Linked DNA regions of Homo sapiens: all the other regions are linked to region 3. Evidence: promoter capture Hi-C in 16 types of primary human blood cells and fetal thymus (Javierre and others, 2016). All regions are on one chromosome and are shown on one strand. Each heading gives the region's core, a stretch centred on a gene start or on the middle of the fragment in contact. The rest is flanking DNA. Distances are from core to core; before and after follow the strand shown.

Region 1 (3,039 bases), core at 249-2,748, 340 kb before region 3:
ATAATAAAAGCATGTGATTGTTCAGTCGTAAACTAAGGCAATCCATACAAACATTTATTAACTGTTACACTGTCTTTTCCCTACTACCCACAGGTCCTGAAAGTACCAACATCATCCCACTGTCATCTGAAATTACATGCCACATCTTCTTCTGGCCAGTTATTTGTCACTGAATCTTTGTAGTAATAATTCCTAAGACGCTAGTCAAATAATAGGAAAATGCCAACAGACCATATTAGTGGGGGAGAGTTAAAAGGAATATGTACATACTGTATTTCTTAACCCATCAAAAATCAACAGAAGTCTGAAAAGGTTACCCTTGCATTTTAGGAGTAAGCGATGTTTTCCAGTTCTGTTTTTTTTCTCAGCTCTTCCCACTAAGCAACAAAACGCAAACGAGCTAGAGAATTCTGCCTTCCTTATGCTACAGAGGCTATGTTTAATGACTCCTGTGGCCATGTTAAAATCAGTGGAGGAAGAGACAAACACTGCAGCTTCTGCCTTTCTCTAAGTCTTCTTGAATGCCGCCGGCCCACCCACTAGGCTCCCCTATTTCTCTTTTCTTCCGTAACAACAACAGCACAAACATTGCAAAAGCAACCAATCAAAACAAGTAGCATCAGTAAAGGGGCAATGGGGCCAATGGTAAGCAACAGAAGCAAAAAGCAGTGACAGTCTCCAATTTGCTCTCATCAATGAGTCAGAGCATACTAAGGCTTCTTTGTACGTAGGTAGAGAACATGGTGGACACTCACACTGCTGGCCTCTTACTCTCCCGGCAATTCTCACAAACACAAAAGTAGAATCCTAGGACTCAGTACTTAAATACCAGAACAACATTCAAGACCTTATCTTAGCAATTTTTTAAAAAGAAAACTACCACACTTAAGAAATGAAAAAAACACACACACACACACAAAATGACTATGCAAGTAAACTTTTATTATGTAGCTAAAAGCTGCAATTTAGATAGTCTAATTAATCTACAAAGCTCAGTTTCTATAAAACAACTATTAGCAGGTTTTCTTCAAGAATTTACTCCTTATTTTGTAGACATCCACGTGAACTAAAATATGAATCAAAATAACAACTCTAAAGGAGAAATAATTTCCCAAAGTAGTAATTACTAACTAAACCCAAGAAAAGACTTGTGTGGCTTAAAGAAGTACAGATATCTCTCTATTTATAGGCTGAACACCCTAATTCCAGAAGCCAATTTTGAACTTGAGTTTAGAATTGATTCCCAGTGCAGGGGACCAAAATATACATGCCCAGGCGCCAACAGTCAATTATTAAGCTTTTTTCACATTAAATAAAAGAAAAACATCTTAACACATCCAATACATATTTAAGTTAAGAGTCAGGAGGCTTATGTTATAGTGCAACCCTGCATATGAACATTATATTATTTTAAATCCCCACTTCCCCACCTGGATAGTGAGGGTTCCTAATCAGTGTTTTCTCTCTTTTGGAAAGCTGATGTGATTGTCTAATATAAAAATTCTTTGAAAAACCTACAGAAAAATAATAAGTAAATTTCTTTTCAAAGTGACAAGGGAAAAAAAATCTATGCCCAAGATATTTTTCTACATTTGTACATCAAACCAATATTTAGATGATATTTAACAGCAAAAAGTTTTTTAACAATAAGAATGTCTGTTTTTTATATAGGAGCATTTGACTTATTTTGTAATTTAGATAAGCTTCAATAGTTTCTCTTCCTAAAGCTCTTTCACTCCTCACAAGTTCTTCCATCTATCTCATTCCTCATCATCCAAATATATATAGATTTTTCTTAACTTTTTAAATAGGTAATACAATATTCAAAAAGTACTTATGAACATAAAAGTTCCTGGCAACCAGTCACCCAGAAGCACATCTCCATCAAGAGGGAAATTTGAACAGAGGGAGAGAGAAACATGCAACAACATGCAAACTCTTTAAGAATTTCCATTATTTCTTGAAGCAACATTTTGTAGAACTAATACACTGATAAAGTATAGAATTTGAAAGCCTCTCCTTTCAGTAAAGTGGGAAAGTCGATTAGCAAGTGAAAAGATTGGCTCAGAACCTAGTAAGACAGGGGTCAGCAATTTCTTAAGCTTGAAGTGCTTTCAGTAAAGCCAGACAATGCTAGGGAATAGCACACACAGGCCTAGTATTTACAGACAACATGTGGCAGTCTATCAGTTGATTACATTTTGTCTTCCAATACTATCAAATTATTTCCTGTATGTAAAAGGCAGGAATCCTACATTTCTGTCAAAGATTCCACAAAACCTGGCAGTGCTAGTGACTACTAAAGTAGATGAAGAAGTAGAATGAGTCACAGGAAAAAGAGGGAAAAGACTGGAAACATACACAAACTTCCCACAAGAGCTGATACAAGACCCAAGAATCCTAAGGTAAAAATACTTTTAAAAACTGTATCATGAAGCCACCATTTATTCAGAGTCTGTAAATTCAGTAAGTGATATGTTTATACAATGTTATCAGAAACATCTAAGGCTATAAAAAATACATATATAGGAAATACCGACTCTGGCTAAACACACTGTCACTGAGGTGTAATCGGTTACTCAGATTATTACAGATTAATTACCTCTATGACTTTTTTAATTTGAATGATCTTATATACAATTAGTAAACAGCGGAATGATATTCTTATAATGCAGAGTTAGGTATGTAAGTTCGACTTGATTTTTTTTTCCCCTGGCACATTCATTTTTTTTTAATGATCCAAGATAAGTTTTCTTGCAATTAAAGACAAAACCTTAGTAAAATATGAAGATCTTTTAAAAAAAACCAGCTAGAAATCTATTAGACGTGCCTTCTATTAATATAAGTAGTAGCTGGTTTTGTGGCTTCAAGAACTTCTATGGTTTCTACTATGTAAAGCTATCTGATCAATCTCTGAGTGCAGCTCAAGAAGCTGCAAAGACATTTCCTTCATTTTCAAAAGGGCTCTTATCTGAATCATATGTATTTTTATTCAACTGATCTAAAGAATCTATATCCCAAATAAGGAAGCATGAGAAC
Region 2 (3,153 bases), core at 571-3,070, 340 kb after region 3:
TTCTCAGATTTCCTTGCTACTAGTGATCTGGATATAAAATAATGATTCCCCACCTGCTAGCACTATCCAGAGCTGCTTTTTCAGCATTTGCAGAGACTGAGCCACTATTAATACTCACTAGTACATTTAATGCCTTGCTATCTAAATCAGCTCCTGTAGATTCTGTATTATTTAACTGAGCCCTGTAACTGATACAGTGCTTAATTTGTGTTGAATAACCACTAATAGTCATGAAATAACTGAAAAACTGCACACAAATTTTTTTTTTTTTGAGACAGACTCTTACTCTGTCACCCAGGCTGGAGTGCAGCGGCATGGTCTTGGCTCACTGCAACCTCTGCCTCCTAGGTTCAAGCCAAGCGATTCTCCTGCCTCAGTCTCCCGAGTAGCTGGGACTACAGGTGCGCACCACCATGCCTATTTTTTTGGTATTTTTAGTAGAGACAGGGTTTCACCATGTTGCCCAGGCTGGTATTGAACTCCTGACCTCAAGTGATCCGCCTGCCTCATCCTCCCAAAGTACAGGGATTACAAGTGTGAGCCACCATGCCAGGCCTCAATTTTTAACTATCCACTTTAGCAACTGTCTGATAATAAAACACTGAATTGTGACATTTTGAGACATCTCCCTCTGCAAAGCAATGTCTTCGTAGTAATCAACACTGTAGTTATAATAAATCTAAGACATAACTGAAGTCAAAGTACCTGTAATTATCTAGCATATTATTTCACAGGCTGAAGGTACATTTGCTTTTAAAATACGCAAATGTGTATTAAAACCAAAAATTTAAAGTCTGTCACTGTGTGGTAAATTCATCTTGCAACTCAGGTTACACAAACATCTAAGTTAAGAAATGTTATGTTCTTAATGAAAAATACACAATGAATTCCCAACTGAAAACGCTGCTCCTTGTTCTGGTTCAATGCTGCTTGAAACGTTTATGAAGGGTCCATCGCAGTGGCTCACGCCTACAAGCCCAGAGCTTTGGGAGGCTGAGGCTTGAGGATCACTCGAGCCCAGTAGTTTGAGACCAGCCTGAGTAACATAATGAGACCCCCATCTCCACAAAACCACAAAAATAAGCTGAGAGTGGTGGTACACACCTTCAGTCTGAGCTGCTCAGGAGGCTGATGTGGGAGGATGGCTCGAGCCCGTAAGTTTGAGGTTGCAGTGAGCTATGATGGTGCTGCTGCACTCCGGTCTGGGCAACAGAGTATCTCAAAAAAAAGAAAGAAGGGTTTATGAGAAAGGACCACCCCCGGGGGTATGAATCATACTGTACACTAAGTTAAGGGCCACTCTACCAAAGACAACTCTAAGAAGAAAAATAGTTTCAAAGAATAAAGAAGAAGATATGGAAAAGGTGAAAACTCCTCCCCTCTTGCCTCAGGTGGGGGGCAGTACGTGGGAGGTAAGGAAATGAAGGAAGGCAGTGCATGACAGCCAAGCCAGGCCACTTCCTTCCTTCTCCTCCACCTCTTTCTACCCAGTGTCACACTGCAGGATACCGTAAGACCCTGGGCCACTTACTCTAAAACTTCAACATCTCTTTGTCTTCCTGACAGTTTCACTGGGGAAAGTGAACTGTCAGCAACAACAGGCTCACCTTCCACTCATCTTAATCTTTCTCTTAATGATTCAATTCAGCAGATGCACACTGGGAAGGCAGGGGAGGCAGACAGAAGAAAGGAGGTAGGGCCCTGGTGCTTTGGAATTTCCAAAATTGCTCAGTCCATCCTACGCACCTAAAGTTAGTGGAGATTTGGGATCGGGCATGGTGGCTCACCCCTGTAATCCCAGCACTTCGGGAGGCTGAGGTGGGTGGATCACTTGAGGCCAGGAGTTCGAGACCAGCCTGGCCGGCATGGCGAAATCCTGTCTCTACTGTAATCCCAGCTACTCGGAGGCTGAGGCAGGAGAATCGCATGAATCCAGAAGGCGGAGGTTGCAGTGAGCCAAGATTGCGCCACTGCACTCCAGCCTGGGCAACAGAGTGAGACTCCATCTCAAAATAAATAAATAAATAAACAAAATTAGTGGAGATTTGGGAAAGGTCTGTATTCTGAAGAACTGGCAATCTGCAGATCGGTGTTAATACCAAGAGAAAACAGCTGCTGTCTCTGAAGTGCCCAAGCATTTTATAAACAGTGGTTTTTTGGTGAGTGCAGCAGTGTCTCTCCTCACTATGGGGCTTAGATTTAATAAATGGACGAAAGGAAACCCTGCAGTGAGGGGTTCTGGAATGGCAATGACTTTGCTGGCCGCAGATGCCCAAGGCCATTAATATTTCCAACTTAATTTTGAAAAACACATGTTTCCGTAAATTTTTCAGGAAAATTTAATCTCATAATTTTTAAAAATGCTATGAAAATATTCAAGGTTGAATTATTTTATTTCCTCAAGGTGAGCTGGACACTCACTCAGATTAAACTTCCCCCTAGCAGAAATATCCACTATTAAGGAAATGAAAAACACAGCTCTCACTTTCCAAGAATTTACCATGTGTGGAGAAAAAAAAGACGTGTAAAAATAGATACTCAGAGTGGGCAAATGATCCAAATCGTAAGTACAAAAAGCTAAAAATTGGAGAATCTTAGTAACAACGACATCTGTGAAAGGCGTTCTTAACATGGGCTAAGATTTCAGGATCAAAAGGGCAACAGAAGGGAAAGGGGTTAATAAGACCAAACAGTGCTAGTGAAGCTGTCGCTGAGAAACAATGTCTTCAGAGACAGGTGAGTTTTAAAGTGATTCAGGGGTAGTCAAGTGTGCATTCCCAAGAAAGGGTCTGGTCCAGCTGCTGGTCATGGTGGGGAAGCCCTGCAAGCTGGAGTTGGGAGACCAGGGTTGTATAATTCTGGGCAGTTAACACCTCTGAGCCCTCCCCTCACATATTTTAATAGGGATGATGGCATCATCCAGCTATATCTCAAGGCAGCAAATGAGATGTGTGCGACTGCTTTGAAACCTATGAAAGGTTTTACCTGTGAAAGTTCAAATTAAAGCAAATCAAAGAAGGCTACGGCAAAAGTGGGCCTGGGGCTTTACCCAAGGAAAATGCAGGGGACAGAAATGAGTGGACTGAAAAAACAGTGCACCAGGAGGGTGGCTCACACCTATAATCCCTACTTTAGAAGGCCAAGGAGGGAGGA
Region 3 (3,033 bases), core at 449-2,948:
TTTAAAATCTATGTCCATGATTAATACTCTCTTTTTTGACACTAAATTGAGTATTAGAGTTATCAACTCAAATTCTATTAGAGTATTAATAATCAACGTTACACTAGGTCATAAAATACATGTGTAATAAACATAATAAGCTTGGGTGTTGTTAATATTGTTGAACATTTACACAACTCTGTCCTGACTATTCTCTATGTAATCAGGTATCATGAAGTTTTTCAACTGACATTTTACTACTAATGAGAAACAAATTAGGAAGATGAGTGATGGGAAGAAAAGATGAACATGATTAATAGGTGCTTGTTTCATAAAGACTCTAGGGAGACTTTTAAATCCTTCACTGCTACTATATTCTCACCGAGTGAGGAGCCACTGCACGTGCCTTTTAAAGCTTTCAAAGGAGGGCTGAGTAGTTACTCAATCTGTTACTGATGCTTACTCCATTTGCATCCTGTTGTGAAATGAGGTACACTTTATGTATTGGTGCCAAGGTAAATGTCAACTGTATCCATCAAAAATTTTTAAAACAGACATCTAAGTTAGAAAAAGAAAATAATGTTTCACTTTGGGTCTAATGTTGCAAATAATCGCTCCTGAAGACTAAAACATCTTTGTTGTTCCGCATCCCTTCCCTCCACCCTTCAAGAACTTGCATTTTTTAACTTTTCAAGTGCTTTTGATTAAAAATACCTAATCTACTTTGCTTCACGGGTTTTTTAAAGAATCATTCTTGTTCTCTAAACCAACTTCGTAGAAATAGAGAGGAAGTTAAACTTTATACAGTATTTGAATCTTTAAAGGTATGAGCATCCTAAACAGTAACTCACTTCTAATAAAGATCTTGCCATTCCTAACTGTACTTTACTAAGGTAGCTGTTTAATAAAAACGTATTTATGCAGATTCTATAGAGCAACTAAAACGGGACCCATAGATGTGGTGAGTAGCACAAAATGTGTATGGCAGTTGGCTTTATTTGCAGCGGCATATAAAATTGTTAATAATCCTGTCAAATCTGTTCATGAATAATTTATTAATCCGATTGCTGGAGTGCAGTGCATACAGGAACTCTATGTATGCGTGCATGTGTACACACCCCCCATGCAGGAAGGACACTACTGCCGTATTCCAGAAATGACAAAAAAAAAAAAGTAAAAATAAGCAAGAATCACATAATTAGATGTCTTACAGTCTCATAAAAGGGCAGTGCTGCGAGGTTAAGCTGGTGAGCTAAAAAACAAACAAAACAAACAAAAAACCACAAAAGCAAAATCCAGTTGCCTGAGATCGGAGCTTCCCGCAGGATTCGCGCAGAGCGAGGAGCGGGGAGGACGCCGTTTGCGGGAGGCGGGGGCCGGGATCCCGACACCGTCCGCAGTCTCCCCGGGGTCTCTCAGGGAACCGAGCTGGTGGCCGTCCGAGGTAAGCGCCGAACCAAGGAGAAAGCGCCGAGCGCGTCCACAAAACGCCCGAGGCCGCCCTTCTCGCCAAGGCTCGGCAGCTCCCGCGGCCTGCGCTGGACAAGCGAGAGCTGGACGGAAACGGTGGGAGGCCGTAGGCGGCGGCTGGGGGCGCGGGACCCGCGCGCGGGCGCGGAGGCGGGCGGGGAGGCCCCGCAGCCCGCGCCGCCGCCAGCCGCCCCGAGCCGCGTGCGCGCGCGGCCGCATCAGCTGAGCGCGCGGCGCGTGTCACGTGGTGTGCGTGTCGAAGGTCACGGCGCGCTCACAATGGAGCTCTCGGAGTCTGTGCAGAAAGGCTTCCAGATGCTGGCGGATCCCCGCTCCTTCGACTCCAACGCCTTCACGCTTCTCCTCCGGGCGGCATTCCAGAGTCTGCTGGACGCCCAGGCGGACGAGGCCGTGTTAGGTAAGCCGCTCGGCTCGGCTCGGAGCTGGATCCGCCGGGGTGGAGGGGCGCTCGGAGAAGAGGAGCCGGCGGAGCGAGAAGGGGAAAGCCCCGGGAAGAGGAAGTCTCCGGGCTTTGCCCTTCGCTCCGGACGGAGTGTTGGGGACGTGGCTCTGCCAGGACTCGGAGCAGACTCTGAGCATTGTTTTGGCCCCACTTGGCACCTGCATAGAGCCAACTCCACGTTCCTGGCCCGGTTTCCCTCCCAGTCTCTTTGTTCTTTTGTAAAGCCGGTGTTCAAGTCTTGTTTGTGGCCTAAACATCTAAGGTGTTTAGCCTTGTCTGAGGCTGCGGCTGTTTTGACAGTTGGACTTCATCTGGGGAGCTCCCTGCAATTCAAGCTTCCAGGGCTAGGCTAGCAAAGGTTTAAGGGTCTGTTTCCGAAGTAATTACTAGGTCAGACAGTGTTGACATTTGCCAACTTAGAGCATACCTCAAGTTGCTATGATCACTCCAGCGCTCTAGTTCAGCATGTTTACACAGGTTCTACGCCTAGAACCTTAAACTATGATGCACAATACTTTGTTCCGCCCCAGTTACCAGGATGCGAGTGTCTTTTAAGCGATCCGGTCAGTGACTGCGGAGGTGCAGTGTCAGTATGGATTGAAGACATATTTTAAGACCGATCGCTTTTAGATGATTTTCTTAAATATAAATATCCCAACAATTCAAATTTTTGTTTTTTTTCTGTAGTTTCATGAACTAAACACTTGTACAAAAAGTATGAAAGTGGAAGTTCTTAAACGAAAATAGTAACCACCACCTGGGTTAATCTCAAAAAAAAAATGACTGTCAAACCCTGAAAGTACTAATATAATTTTGAAATTTGTATCTTATATTCTGAACTCATGCCCTACCTTCTACCCCCTTGATGTATTTGTTCATGGAGCCGGTTACCCTAAACTCATCATTTTTAGGATGGAAGTTTATTCTAAAATTGACACAATGTAAAATATTTATCTTGTTTTTCCTTTGAATTTACTCCAGTGTTAGAATGACCATTGCATTGTTATATTTTCTTTGGGGGCTATAATATTTTTTAATAGTAAAAATATTAAGGCAAAATAAGTTAATTGAAGCTAGTAATAGTAGAGTTCTTGTTGTGTTCTTTTTATTGTTTTTCACTT
Region 4 (3,367 bases), core at 260-2,759, 400 kb after region 3:
TAGGAAATTAGGCTAGACATAATATTTAAACTCGAGGGCTAGATACTACATGCGGACTTAGCCACCTAGCAATTTGATCGCTGTTTTCCTTTGGGGTTTGCATGCTAATGAGACAAAGTGTATGTCCTGCTTGTTCTTGGTTCAGCCCACCTGGTTCAAGCTGCTTACCTTGTCAAGCTGCCAAACCATCAACATTCGCCAAAGGTCTGGAAGAGAGGCATAGATCTTCCTTCTCTAGGAGGAAGATCAAGGGAGTGTGACTTCAAGAAGAGCATGTGGTTGTGTCAGTCAAGAAGAATGCCATGCCCTCCTCAACAGCCACATCCTTTTGCATTTGGCCTGGTGGGATGTTACACATCCAGATGGCAAAGCCATCACAAATGGAAGAAAGGCTCCAGCAGCCAAGTTCACTAAGAAGAAAGAAGGACATGTCAAGAAGATTTAAAACGTTCCCAATACTGACTTGGTTTTATTTATTTATTTATTTATTTATTTATTTATTTATTTATTTCTGAGATAGGGTCTCACTCTGTGCCCCAGGCTGGAGTGCAGTGGCATAATCATGGCTCATGGCAACCTCAACCTCCTGGGCTCAAGTGATCCTCTTGCCTCCCACCTCCCTAATAGCTGGGACTACAGGTGCACACCACCATGCCCAGCTAATTTTTGTATTTTTTTGTAGAGACAAGGTCTCACTGTGTTGCCCAGGCTGGTCTGGAACTCTTGGCCTCAAGTGATCCCCGTCCTTCGCCTCCCGAAGTGATGGGATTATAGGCGTGAACCACTGTGCCCAGCCCCCAATACTGACTTGTTTATGCTTCTTGTTGTTGTGGTTTTGTTTTTGCTTACATTTACTATAATCAACTTTATTTAGTATCTTTATTTAGTATAAATAACTTTATTTAGTATAAAACTACATGGTGTAAATATTATGTTGCCTAAGGTATACAAGACCAGAAGTAGAGGTCGAATAGGGTAGATGCTCTGATTTTTTATATTACCCTTTTTAATAAAAAAATACTATCAATCGAATAATTCCAATTCTTCCTTGAGAAAAGGGAAGTGGTAGCTTTTTTGACTTAGTGCTATTTGGAAGCTTTGTGCTTTTCCTTGCTTTATGAAAAGATCAGAGCAAGATGTGAGACAATTCCATTCATCCTTCTACAATGTCACCTTGAGCTTTGCCATGCAAAATTATTATGTTGGAAGACCATTCTTAAAGTGCATAAGCTGTCAAATCTAGCCAAAAGGCAATAAGTAAGCTACAAATGCAATAAATGGGCTCTAAAAATTCAACTGTGACAAGTGAGTTACTTTTGGGGGGATAAGCTATTGACATGATGCAGCACAGCTTGCTTTCTGGGAGTTCCAGGGGTCTGGCTAAACTTCCTGGACTGGCTGTGGTTTGGTGCCAGCCAGTTGGGGTTTTCCACTCCAATTTAAATATCGATGGTGATTCTTCTGGCTTCTGTAGCTGGCTGGGACTTCCTGGACAGTGGCAGCCATTCCAGGAATCTACCAGTTAGTTGACTCCTGTCTGGTTAGCCTGACTTGGGGAGATTGGACTGGGAGAAGATGGAGTAAAAAGCAGGTAATGCGCAGACTAACCATTCCCCAGACCACCCCACCTTCTCCACTCCCCAAGCAGCAACATGAGAACTTGAGCTAGCCTCCCCCGCTGGAAGACAGGAAGCTGTGTGAAGGACATTATATCTTGATCATATATATCTTTATATATATATGAAAGTTTTCTTTATTATAGAAATGGAAATTTCAACATTGGGAGATCACATGGCAGGATATAATGCATCCAATAAACATGATATTTTCACAGAAAATGTAATGACATAAAATAATCATGATATTAATATAAGTGAAAAAATAGGATACATATCATATATATGCTATGGTTTTAATAGCACAAAGCTTTTTTTAAAAAGCACAAAGCTTCCAAATAGCACTAACACCTATAATCTCTGCACTTTAGGGGGCCATGGTGGAAGGCTCTCTTGAGGCCAGGAGTTCAAGACCAGCCTGGGCAACACAGCAAGGCCCTATCTTTACAAAATAAAAATTAAAAATTTTTAAAAAGTAAAAAGTGTATTATAAAATGTGTGTGCATGTAAAACACTGAAAGAAAACAGAGCATACTTTTGACAGTGCTATATCAGGGGTGCAGTTAGGATTATGGATGATTTTTAAAATATATTTCTGCATTTTCCAAATGTTATAAGATGCATACGTGTTACTTTTATAATTTTTTTAATGCAACTATCTTTCCTAGTTAAATAAGTAACACAGTAATGTCATTTAACATACTAACCCAATTCCAATAAGAGACCAGCATTTTCACTTGCTCCTTGCTATTTATAATAGTCGTTGTATGATTTAGGCAATGGCGAACTAAGCCTGTGGTGAACATTTTCCTATATGTAGGAAAAAGGGAACCTCCTGTGTTCGCAAAGAGTCCTTATGCAAGTTTACAAATTGTTTACCCATTGGGCATCATCTTCCCAATGCATACAGCCTATGCGTTTTTCGGGGACCTAGAAAAAATTTGAGATGTGAAAACAAAAATTTTGATTACAAAAGAAAACTGCAAAAGTGATATCAATAATAACATTTGACTAAATGTTGCCATTTATTAAATTTAAATTTAGTATTTAAAAAGTCATTACGTATATAAAGAATTTGTGAGTTAGCTTTTCTTATGTTACAAGTATGCATAATGATTGATAAAAAAGATAGTAAATAGTCAATCAAAAATTAAATGTTTGGCTGGACGTGGTGATTCATGCCTGTAATCCCAGCACTTTAAGAGGTTGAGGTGGTAGGATTGCTTGAGCCTAGGAGTTAGAGACCAGCCTGGGCAACATAGGGAGACCCTGCCTCTATAAAAAATAAAACATTATCCAGTCATAGTGGTGTGTGCCTGTGGTCCCAGCTACTCGAGGGACTGAGGTGGGAAGATCACTTGAGCCTGGGAGATTGAGGCTGCAGTGAACTGTGATCAGTGGCACTCTAGTCTGGGTGGATTGAGATTCTGAATCTCCAAAAAAAAAAAAAAAAAAAAGGCATAGCTAAACATTTTTAGAGCAAAATTATAAAAATCTTTTCTAATTTATTTTACAGCAAAAACGTTGAATTAAATGTGGACTGTGAATGCATTTTCATATGTTTGATACGCTGAAGGGTTGGAGCCTCCAAAAATAAGGATGCCCAGCCCTTAGGAGAGTTTTTTAAATGGCTGCCGGGAGGAAAGATTCTATTCTTTGTAGATCAACAAGGTCCAGACAAATTGGTGTGACCTTCAGACCTGAAGCCAACACTGAATGCCAAGACCAGAGGAATTAGAAGATTTTACACT

The links. The method cuts DNA at HindIII sites, captures the fragments that hold promoters and counts their contacts. A CHiCAGO score of 5 or more calls a contact.
Region 1: a contact is called between a fragment that was not itself captured here and the fragment with the promoter of COMMD3 in region 3, in 1 of 17 cell types (megakaryocytes). The highest score is 5.7, in megakaryocytes.
Region 2: a fragment that was not itself captured here is called in contact with the fragment with the promoter of COMMD3 in region 3 in 1 of 17 cell types (activated CD4 T cells); the score reaches 5.5 in activated CD4 T cells.
Region 4: a fragment that was not itself captured here is called in contact with the fragment with the promoter of COMMD3 in region 3 in 2 of 17 cell types (fetal thymus and neutrophils); the score reaches 5.6 in fetal thymus.

Annotation. Positions count from the first base shown.
Region 1 is chr10:21,976,359-21,979,397 of GRCh38, forward strand. The region is part of intron 1 of DNAJC1 (DnaJ heat shock protein family (Hsp40) member C1); the gene reads right to left. Among named protein-coding and RNA genes, the nearest start is that of DNAJC1, 26 kb to the right of the region's middle. The HindIII fragment of the contact is 406 bases long and covers 1,296-1,701 here.
Region 2 is chr10:22,651,865-22,655,017 of GRCh38, forward strand. The region is part of intron 1 of PIP4K2A (phosphatidylinositol-5-phosphate 4-kinase type 2 alpha); the gene reads right to left. Among named protein-coding and RNA genes, the nearest start is that of PIP4K2A, 61 kb to the right of the region's middle. The HindIII fragment of the contact is 9,843 bases long and covers 1-3,153 here.
Region 3 is chr10:22,314,690-22,317,722 of GRCh38, forward strand. COMMD3 (COMM domain containing 3) reads left to right here and starts at 1,699. Exons shown (of 8, transcript NM_012071.4): 1 at 1,699-1,867. The coding sequence starts at 1,729. It overlaps COMMD3-BMI1 (COMMD3-BMI1 readthrough), which reads left to right and starts at 1,699. Exons shown (of 14, transcript NM_001204062.2): 1 at 1,699-1,867. The coding sequence starts at 1,729. RefSeq lists a silencer at 1,557-1,676 and an enhancer at 1,947-2,246. The HindIII fragment of the contact is 1,853 bases long and covers 393-2,245 here.
Region 4 is chr10:22,719,331-22,722,697 of GRCh38, forward strand. No RefSeq gene overlaps it. Among named protein-coding and RNA genes, the nearest start is that of PIP4K2A, 6.4 kb to the left of the region's middle. The HindIII fragment of the contact is 830 bases long and covers 1,095-1,924 here.